3 separate regions of the Homo sapiens genome follow, and regions 2 and 3 are each linked to region 1. Evidence: promoter capture Hi-C in human tissues and cell types (Jung and others, 2019). All regions are on one chromosome and are shown on one strand. The core of a region is centred on a gene start or on the middle of the fragment in contact, and the rest is flanking DNA. Distances in the headings are between cores, read along the strand shown. Region 1 holds the start of CREB3L3 (cAMP responsive element binding protein 3 like 3). Region 2 holds the start of TMIGD2 (transmembrane and immunoglobulin domain containing 2). Region 3 overlaps SH3GL1 (SH3 domain containing GRB2 like 1, endophilin A2).

The links. The method cuts DNA at HindIII sites, captures the fragments that hold promoters and counts their contacts. A contact is called where the count stands out against the background at its distance.
Region 2: a contact is called between the fragment with the promoter of TMIGD2 here and the fragment with the promoter of CREB3L3 in region 1, in 4 of the 25 tissues and cell types used here (dorsolateral prefrontal cortex, lymphoblastoid cells, mesenchymal stem cells and 1 more).
Region 3: a fragment that was not itself captured here is called in contact with the fragment with the promoter of CREB3L3 in region 1 in 4 of the 25 tissues and cell types used here (dorsolateral prefrontal cortex, mesenchymal stem cells, psoas muscle and 1 more).

What each region holds. Positions count from the first base shown.
Region 1 is chr19:4,152,205-4,154,904 of GRCh38, reverse strand. It overlaps CREB3L3 (cAMP responsive element binding protein 3 like 3), which reads right to left and starts at 1,274. Exons shown (of 10, transcript NM_032607.3): 1 at 1,131-1,274; 2 at 1-6. The coding sequence starts at 1,157. The HindIII fragment of the contact is 37,156 bases long and covers 1-2,700 here.
Region 2 is chr19:4,301,020-4,303,719 of GRCh38, reverse strand. It overlaps TMIGD2 (transmembrane and immunoglobulin domain containing 2), which reads left to right and starts at 1,331. Exons shown (of 5, transcript NM_001169126.2): 1 at 1,331-1,380. The coding sequence starts at 1,335. RefSeq lists an enhancer at 1,325-1,870. The HindIII fragment of the contact is 29,023 bases long and covers 1-2,700 here.
Region 3 is chr19:4,365,549-4,368,248 of GRCh38, reverse strand. SH3GL1 (SH3 domain containing GRB2 like 1, endophilin A2) reads left to right here. Exons shown (of 10, transcript NM_003025.4): 2 at 1,255-1,323; 3 at 1,676-1,748; 4 at 2,624-2,700. Among named protein-coding and RNA genes, the nearest start is that of MPND, 23 kb to the right of the region's middle. RefSeq lists an enhancer at 1,406-2,327. The HindIII fragment of the contact is 3,201 bases long and covers 1-2,700 here.

The DNA of each region.
Region 1 (2,700 bases), core at 25-2,524:
AGCCATCTGGGGCGCGAGGAACAGATGTGAGGGTCACATACAGCCCCTGTCCTCCCCACCTCCCATGTGCACATAACCCTGGCTCTTTCCGGCTAGAGTTCAGTTGCCGCTCTGCCTCCGGGTTGGGCCAGCTGCTGCCCCTCGCTGAGACTCCCTTTCCAAATCTGGACTTTGAGGCTGATAGAGAGAATTCCACAGTGTGAGAGCCAATTTCTCTTAAAGTGCTGGAGAGGCTGGATGTGGTGGCTCATGCCTGTAATCTCAGCACTTTGGGAGGCCGGGGCAGGAGGATCACTTGAGCCCAGGAGTTCAAGACCAGCCTGCGCAACATAGAGACCCCTATCCCTACTGCAAATAATTTAAAAAAATTAGCTGGCTGCGGTGGCACACACTTGTCGTCCCAGCTACTGGGGAGGCTGAGGTAGGAGGATCCCTTGAACCCAGGAGGTTGAGGCTGCAGTGAGCTATGGCCACCCCACTGCACTCCACCCTGGGTCACAGAGCAAGACCTTGTTTCAAAAAACAAAAAAGTATGGCAGGCACGGTGGCTCACATCTGTAATCCCAGCACTCTGGGAAGCCGAGGCGGGCAGCTCACCTGAAGTCAGGAGTTTGAGACCAGCCTAGCCAACATGGTGAAACCCTGTCTCTAGGAAAAGTACAAAAATTAGCCGGGCGTGGTGGTGCACACCTGTAATCCCAACTACTTGGGAGGCTGAGGCAGGAAGATCTCTTGAACCCAGGAGGTGGAAGTTGCAGTGAGCTGAGATCGTGCCATTGCACTCTAGCCTGGGTGACAGAGGGAGACTCCATCTCAAAAAATAAAAATAAAAATAAAATAAAATAAAATAAAAAGTGCTGGAGAGAGGCCCTAGCTAGAGATGCCGCTTGCCTCTCAGGCCTTCACAGCCTCCCCAAGTGCCCGCTCCTAGGAGGCAGGGGGACCTGGAAGAAAGACAAGGGCAGCCCCGGGGCAAAGGCACACAGTTTTGCTCATTGCATCCTTTCTCTGGGCCTCAGTCTTCCCATCTGTACAATAGGGGTGGAGATGGGGTCCTTCCAGCTCTGGCAGCTTGGGTAGGCTTTCCCAGCCTAGACTCCCGCTCTCCCTGGGGACCTAGTAGGGCTCACCTTTCCAGCAGCTAAATCCGTATTCATGGGTCCATCCAGTTCTGTCTGCAGATGCCTCGGGGGGTCTCTGCTCCAAGCTGGAGGCCCACCCACCGCCAGCGTTACCTGGGGCCGGGCAAGCTCACAGCCCTCTGTGGCTCTGTCACCACTCCCAAAAGATGCTGAAGCGGTCACAGGCAGCTCCCAGCCCACCTCCAGGTGCTGATTGGTGGACAGGGTGGAGAGACAGGGTTGAGGGCCAGTGACACTGGGGCAGGCAGGAGCAGGGGAGGGAAGACCGTTATCTGGGTGTTTTGTGGTTTTCCAGCCCTCAGTGAGCAAAGGTCGAAGTCTGGGGTACCTCCACTCTGCCGTGACCTCTGCCCTACTTATGAGGACTTTTTCTTTTTTTCTTTCTTTTTTGAGACGGAGTCTCGCTCTGTGGCCCAAGCTGGAGTGCAGTGGTGCCATCTCATTTCGGCTCACTGCAACCTCTGCCTCTTGGGTTCAAGTGATTCTCCTGCCTCAGCCTCCCGAGTAGCTGGGACTACAGGTCCCCATCACCATGCCCGGCTAACTTTTGTATTTTTAGTAGAGACGAGGTTTCATCATGTTTTCCAGGCTGGTCTCGAACTCCTGACCTCGTGATCGGCCCCTCAGTCTCCCAAAGTGCGGGGATTACAGGCGTGAGCCACCGCACCCGGCCAGTTACAGGACTTTTTCTCTTCAGAATTCCCAGATGGGTTCTGGGATAGCCCAGGGCCCTTACATGGGTCCTGTCCACTCCCTGGACAGAAACAAACCAAGAGGACCAGACCAGATCTTCACTGAAGCCAGTTTTCCTGCCAGCAGCTAGCGGCTCCCATCCTTCACCCCACCTGCCAACCTCCGGCCCCCAGCCCCCTCCGAAACCAGCTTGGACTCCGCCTCTGAGTCCCCATGGGTGATTCTGTGCAATCAATTCTCTCTAGAATCTTCTATCGTTCATTGAGTCAACAAATATTTATGGAGCCAAACTGGTTCCTGCTTAGGGCCTTTGCACCTACTCACCTGCTCGCCCCTCTGCCTGGAACTCTCCTCTTGTACCCTCCCTCTTCCCCTCTGGCTCTAGGTCACTGTATTGACATTTTAGTGAATGTTCGATATTTGTGAATCAGCCCGGGTGGCTGAGAGGTGTCTCTGACCTCCCCTCCACCCCCTACCAAGAGAGAGGAGCCCTGTTTTGTTTTTTTGTTTTTTTTTTTGGTGTTGGTGGAGGACAGGGTCTCACTCTATTGCCCAGGCTGGAGTGCAGTGGCAGGATCATAGCTCACTGCAGCCTCCAACTCCTGGGTTCAAGTGATCCTCCCGTCTCAGCCTCCCAAGTAGCTAGGACTGCAGGCGTGCACCACCACACCTGGCTAATTTTGTTTTTTTTTTTTTATAGAGATGGGGTCTTACTGTGTTGGCCAGTATGGTCTCAAACTCCTGGGCTCAAATGATCCACCTGCTTCAGCCTCCCAAAGTGCTGGATTTACAGGCATGAGCCACTGTGCCCAGGCAAAGTCCCCCTTTAGCAGATGACATATTAGACCAAGCGTGGTGGCTCACA
Region 2 (2,700 bases), core at 82-2,581, 150 kb before region 1:
TTTTAAATTATTATTATTATTTTTTTTTAGAGACGGACTCACTCTGTTGCCCAGGCTGGAGTAACGGGGCGCAATCATGGCTTACTGCAGCCTCCAACTCCTGGGCTCAAGCGGTTCTCCTGCCTCAGCCTCCCGAGTGGCTGGGACTATAGGCATGCACCATCACCCTGGGTTGGTTTTGTATCTTTTTTTTTTTTTTTGAGACACAGTCTCACTCTGTCGCCCAGGCTGGAGTGCAGTGGCAGGATCTCGGCTCCCTGTAATCTCCATCTCCCCAGTTCTGGCGATTCTCCTGCCTCAACCCCACTGAGTAGCTGGGACTACAGGCGCCCACCACTAGGCCCAGCTAATTTTTGTATTTTTAGTAGAGACCGGGTTTTGCCATGTTGGCTAGGCTGGTCTTGAACTCCTGACCTCAGGTGATCCACCCGCCTTGGCCTCCCAAAGTGCTGGGATTACAGGCCTGGGCCACCATGCCCAGCCTGTATCTTTTTTTTTTTTTTTTTTTTTTTAATAGAGATTGGATCTCGCTGTGTTACCCCAGGTTGATCTTAAACTCGGCTCAAGTGATCCTCCCACCTCAGCCTCACAAAGTGCTGGGATTACAGGTGTGAGCTACAGCGCCCAGCAAAAGAAAGACATTTTGGGAGCAAAATAATTGAGGCAGGGACCCTGTCATTTAACTCACTGCTCAGGCCTATGTCGCCTGCCCCTCCCCCACGGAGCCACCTGCTCTCGCACTGTGTCTTCCTGTACCTAGATGTGTTTATGTAGAGCCTTCCAGAAAGCTCACAGGGGTGGATTCCTCCCACTCACTTGCATACACTGCCTTTCTTTTCTTTTTTTCTGAGACGGAGTTTCACTCTTGTCGCCCAGGCTGGAGTGCAGTGGCGTGATCTTGGCTCACTGCAACCTCCGCCTCCCGGGTTTAAGCCATTCTCCTGCCTCAGCCTCCCAAGTAGCTGGGATTATAGGCGCCCATCACCATGTCCAGCTAATTTCTGTATTTTTAGTAGAAATTAGTAGGGGTTTCATCATGTTGGCCAAGCTGGTCTCGAACTCCTGACCTCAGGTGATCCACCTGCCTCGGCCTCCCAAAGTGCTGGGATTACAGACATGAGCCATGTTGCCTGGTCCGTACACTGCCTTTCAGATAGAAAATGCATTGGGGAAACTGAGGCACGAGGTGGCAGGAAGTGGAGCCCCCAGCAGGCTGGAACACCGGACGTCTGTTGTCTGGCCCTGGGTGTTGCATCTGCTTCTGCAGCGGGAGGCGGAGATTGTGGCAGGAAGTCTGTCAACTGGGAGGGGGAGAGGGGGGTGATGGGCCAGGAATGGGGTCCCCGGGCATGGTGCTGGGCCTCCTGGTGCAGATCTGGGGTGAGTATCTGGGCCTCCCTCCCCTCTGAACCCCACTCTTGCTGTCATCCCCAGCTGCCTGCCCCCCAGCTCAGGGCCCCTCTAAACTTCAGTCTCTCTACTGTCAGATAAGGCCCATCTCCCTCCGAGACTCAGAACGTGATGGGGGCTGGAGGATTAAGGAAGGATCCTCTGAGGGCCCCTAGGATACAATCTAAACCTTGCCCTACATACCAGCCTGGCCTGGCCTCTCTCATCTCCACCCTCCGCAGTGCCTTTGCTCCCTCCCTCTTGCTCTAGCCTGGGGACTTTTCTTTCTCTGTTTCCGCAATGGGAAGGCTGGATCTGGCCTTCGAGCCTTTGCACCTGCTGTTCCAGCTGCCTAATACCCTTCTCCAGATCTCATGTCTCTACCCTCCTCTGCAATTGCATCTCAAATGCCAGGAACTTCACATAACCTCAACTTCTCCGGGGGTCTAACAGACACGTCAGACTTCTCACAGCTAAAAGCAGACTTTCTACTCCGGCAGCAGCTCCCTCTGTGTTTCCAATTAAGGACAAAGGCTGCTGCCCTTCACACATTTCCTGGGGCGAAAACCTCCATTCCTCTTTCCCTCTCCTCTGATTCCAGCCGCTTGCACTTTTTTGTTGTTCATTTGTGTTTTTTTGTTTGTTTGTTTTGTTTTGTTTTGAGAAGGAGTCTTGCTCTGTCACCCAGGCTAGAGTGCAGTGACGCGATCTCGGTTGACTGCAACCTCTGCCTCCCAGGTTCAAGAGATTCTCCTGCCTCAGGCTCCCGAGTAGCTGGGACTGCAGGCGCGCGCCACTGCGCCTGGCTAATTTTTTTTGTATTTTTAGTAGAGACGGGGTTTCGCCATCTCGGCCAGGTGGGTCTCGAACTCCTGACCTCATGATCCACCCACCTTGGCCTCCCAAAGTGCTGGGATTACAGGCGTGAGCCACCGTGCCCAGTCATTTTTGTTTTTTAGAGATGGGTCTCACTATGTTGCCCAGGCTGGTCTTGAACTCCTGGCCTCAAGCAATCACCCAGTCTTGGCCACCCAAAGGGCTGGGATAACAGGCATGAGCCACCACACCCAACCAAGGTCTTTTTATTAAAACTTAAATTGGAGACTGAGGCAGGTGGATCACTTGAGGTCAGGAGTTCCAGACCAGCCTGGCCATGTTGGTGAAACCCCATCTCTACCAAAAATACAAAAATTAGCTGGGCGTGGTAGCGAGTGCCTGTAGTCCCAGCTACTCAAGAGGCTGAGCCACAAGAATCACTTGAACCTGGGAGGCAGAGGTTGCAATGAGCCGAGATCACACCACTGCACTCCC
Region 3 (2,700 bases), core at 34-2,533, 210 kb before region 1:
ACACGGACCCTCATGGCATCCCTTGGCCACGTCTTGTGACAGCTCGGGGCAGGCAAGCACCAATCAGACCTGGGGAGCACCAGGGGCACAGGCCATGGCCCACGGCACGCAACACCTCACTCTCCTGCCCAGGCCGTGTGTGCACGTCTTCACACAAGTGATCAGACCCGGGATGTTAAATTTGCCGATGACTTCAGAGATGGCACACCCTGTGACACTTGGCCCCCAGAGGGCAGGGCCAAGCTTGTGACCTCAGGCGGCCTCCCTCTGGGAGCCTCCATTTGTGGCAGGGCCTGGCAGCCACTCGGCTCTTCATGAAGCGCTGTGTGCTGGGAAGGGCCTCACACTGTCCATCCTCACTCTGTGCGGCATCCCTTGGCGCCAGGCACACATGGGATACGTGGGGTGAAGAAAGCAACGCCTGTGCTCAGACAGCGGTGCTGGGGTTCAGTGGTTCCCGCCATGTTCCATGGGACATTTCAGGGCTGTTTTTCGCATCCCAGGCGCTGTCAGAGGGAGTGGTTTGGGAATTCAGTGCTTGCTTCTGCCTTCCCACCACACGAGGAAAGACGCTGTAAGTGCCTGTCATTGTCATCGCTTTCACCGTAGCTGAGAGCCGTGAGGACCAAGGTGTGCCAGGCCTGTGTTGACTGCCTTGTGAAACTCAGTGTCCACATGGGGCAAGGGCTGGGCTGTCCCATCCTGCAGACACGGGCACCAGAGCACAGGAGAATGGCGGCCTCCCTGCCCGGCTGCCTGCACCTCTTCTCGTAACTGTCAGCTCCTGCTGCCTCTCCCAGCCAAGCTGGCAGGATTTTTTTTTTTAAGTAGACCCCACATACTCAAGGATGGGGGCAGATCCCCACATTGCTATCTGTGGGGATGTTTGTGTAGGCGCTTCTGGAAGCAGTGTCTTCTGAGCCATGTGTTCTCAGGCTGAGGCTCTGGACTCCACCGTGGCCCAGATGGGGCCTACTGTGGCAGGGTCCCCAGTGGGTATGTGAGTGGCAGTCGGGACACACACAGGTGGGCAGGCCACCCCCACCCTCCCCCTCCCCCTGCAGGCCCACCCTGCTCTGCAGGCAGCGTGTGGCCCTGGGGTGCCCACGGCAGTGCCTGAGGTGTGTGTCCTGATCACTTGGCCTCCTGCCTCCAGCTGTGGATGCGATGTGGCTGGAAGGCGGCTCAGGGCCTCCTGTCCTCTTCTTCCTCCTACCCCTGGGCTCACAGCGTTTCCCCTCTTCTGTCCTCTAGCTGGTCAGTGAGAAGGTCGGAGGGGCCGAGGGGACCAAGCTGGATGATGACTTCAAAGAGATGGAGAAGGTGAGGAAGAAACTGCGTGCTCTGTGTGGTGGTGGCACTGCTGGGGCCTGACCTCTGCCGGGCATAGTGGAGGCGGCCAACCTTGATGGGCCTGGGTCTGGAGTGATGGGGCCCGGCAGGTGTGGAGAGATGGGGTGGTGTGGGGGCCTCGTCAGCTGGACTTGACGGGCACCAGCTCTCTCCCCTGCCGTGGGCAGGCAGCTGTGGGGACATGGCTGAGCTGAAGACATGGAGAGGGGGTTGGGGGGTCCTGGTATGGGCTCTTAGGGCAGGAGGCGGTGCAGCAGCGGGGGTCTTGTGTGCCTTGGGCCCCCACTGGCTGTGGAGTCTTATATGCTGCTTCTCTTCACAGAAGGTGGATGTCACCAGCAAGGCGGTGACAGAAGTGCTGGCCAGGACCATCGAGTACCTGCAGCCCAACCCAGGTGGGTGCTCCAGCCACTGCCAGGGCCTGCCCCAGGCCCTCTGGCCTCTGTGTCAGAGGGAAGGCAGGGGATGACAGAACCGCCAGGCTCATGGGTTGTGGGCTTCAGGCACAGCTGGATCCCGGAGTGCAGAGGCCATCCTTGGTGCTGCATGCTGCCTTTCCACCTCAACCAGCAGCTCAGCCCCTCTGTTGGCTTCACTCTCATGCCGACTGGTTCCTCAGGGCCGTCCCAGCCTTCAACCCCTCTTCCAGCCAGCAGTCCTGGCAGGGAGCCTCTCCCCCAGCTTACTTGTGGGATCCATTTGTATTGGCCGCCCCTCCCCAGTGCCCCTGGCCTGGACTTCACCTCTTGGGCTTGGGACTGGGTCTCCCTGGCTGAGAGACGGGCTTTTCCCCAAGGAAAACCCAAATGCTGGCTCCATAGGAGGCCACGGACAGGGGGCAGACGCACACCCAGCAGTGTCCACTCAGGCCCTGCCAGGAGCAGACCCAAGCGGGCAGCGGAAGGGACACAGCTCATCACCCACCCCGGGAGCCTTGGCCTCAACCACCCCCCGCTGCACATCACTGCTGCGCCTCCTCCCTGGCACCCCCCAGATGAGGGGTCATAGCCACGTTCCAAGAGGAGCAGCCCTTGGAAGGAGGAGGTTTTGCCCCCTGAGGAGCTTGGTCACCTCTCCACCCGCTGCCAGCTCCTTTGAGGCTAGCAGGAGCAGGGAAGGGACCCTCTGGGGATTCCACTGTGCTTTGTGTGGCCTAGGCTGTCCACAGGCACAGGAAGCAAGGGTGGGGAGGAGATGTGGGGGCTGCAGTCTGCCAGGGCAGAGGAGTGCAGGCCTCACAGCCCACACCCACCTGGCCATCCTATCCCAGCCTCGCGGGCTAAGCTGACCATGCTCAACACGGTGTCCAAGATCCGGGGCCAGGTGAAGAACCCCGGCTACCCGCAG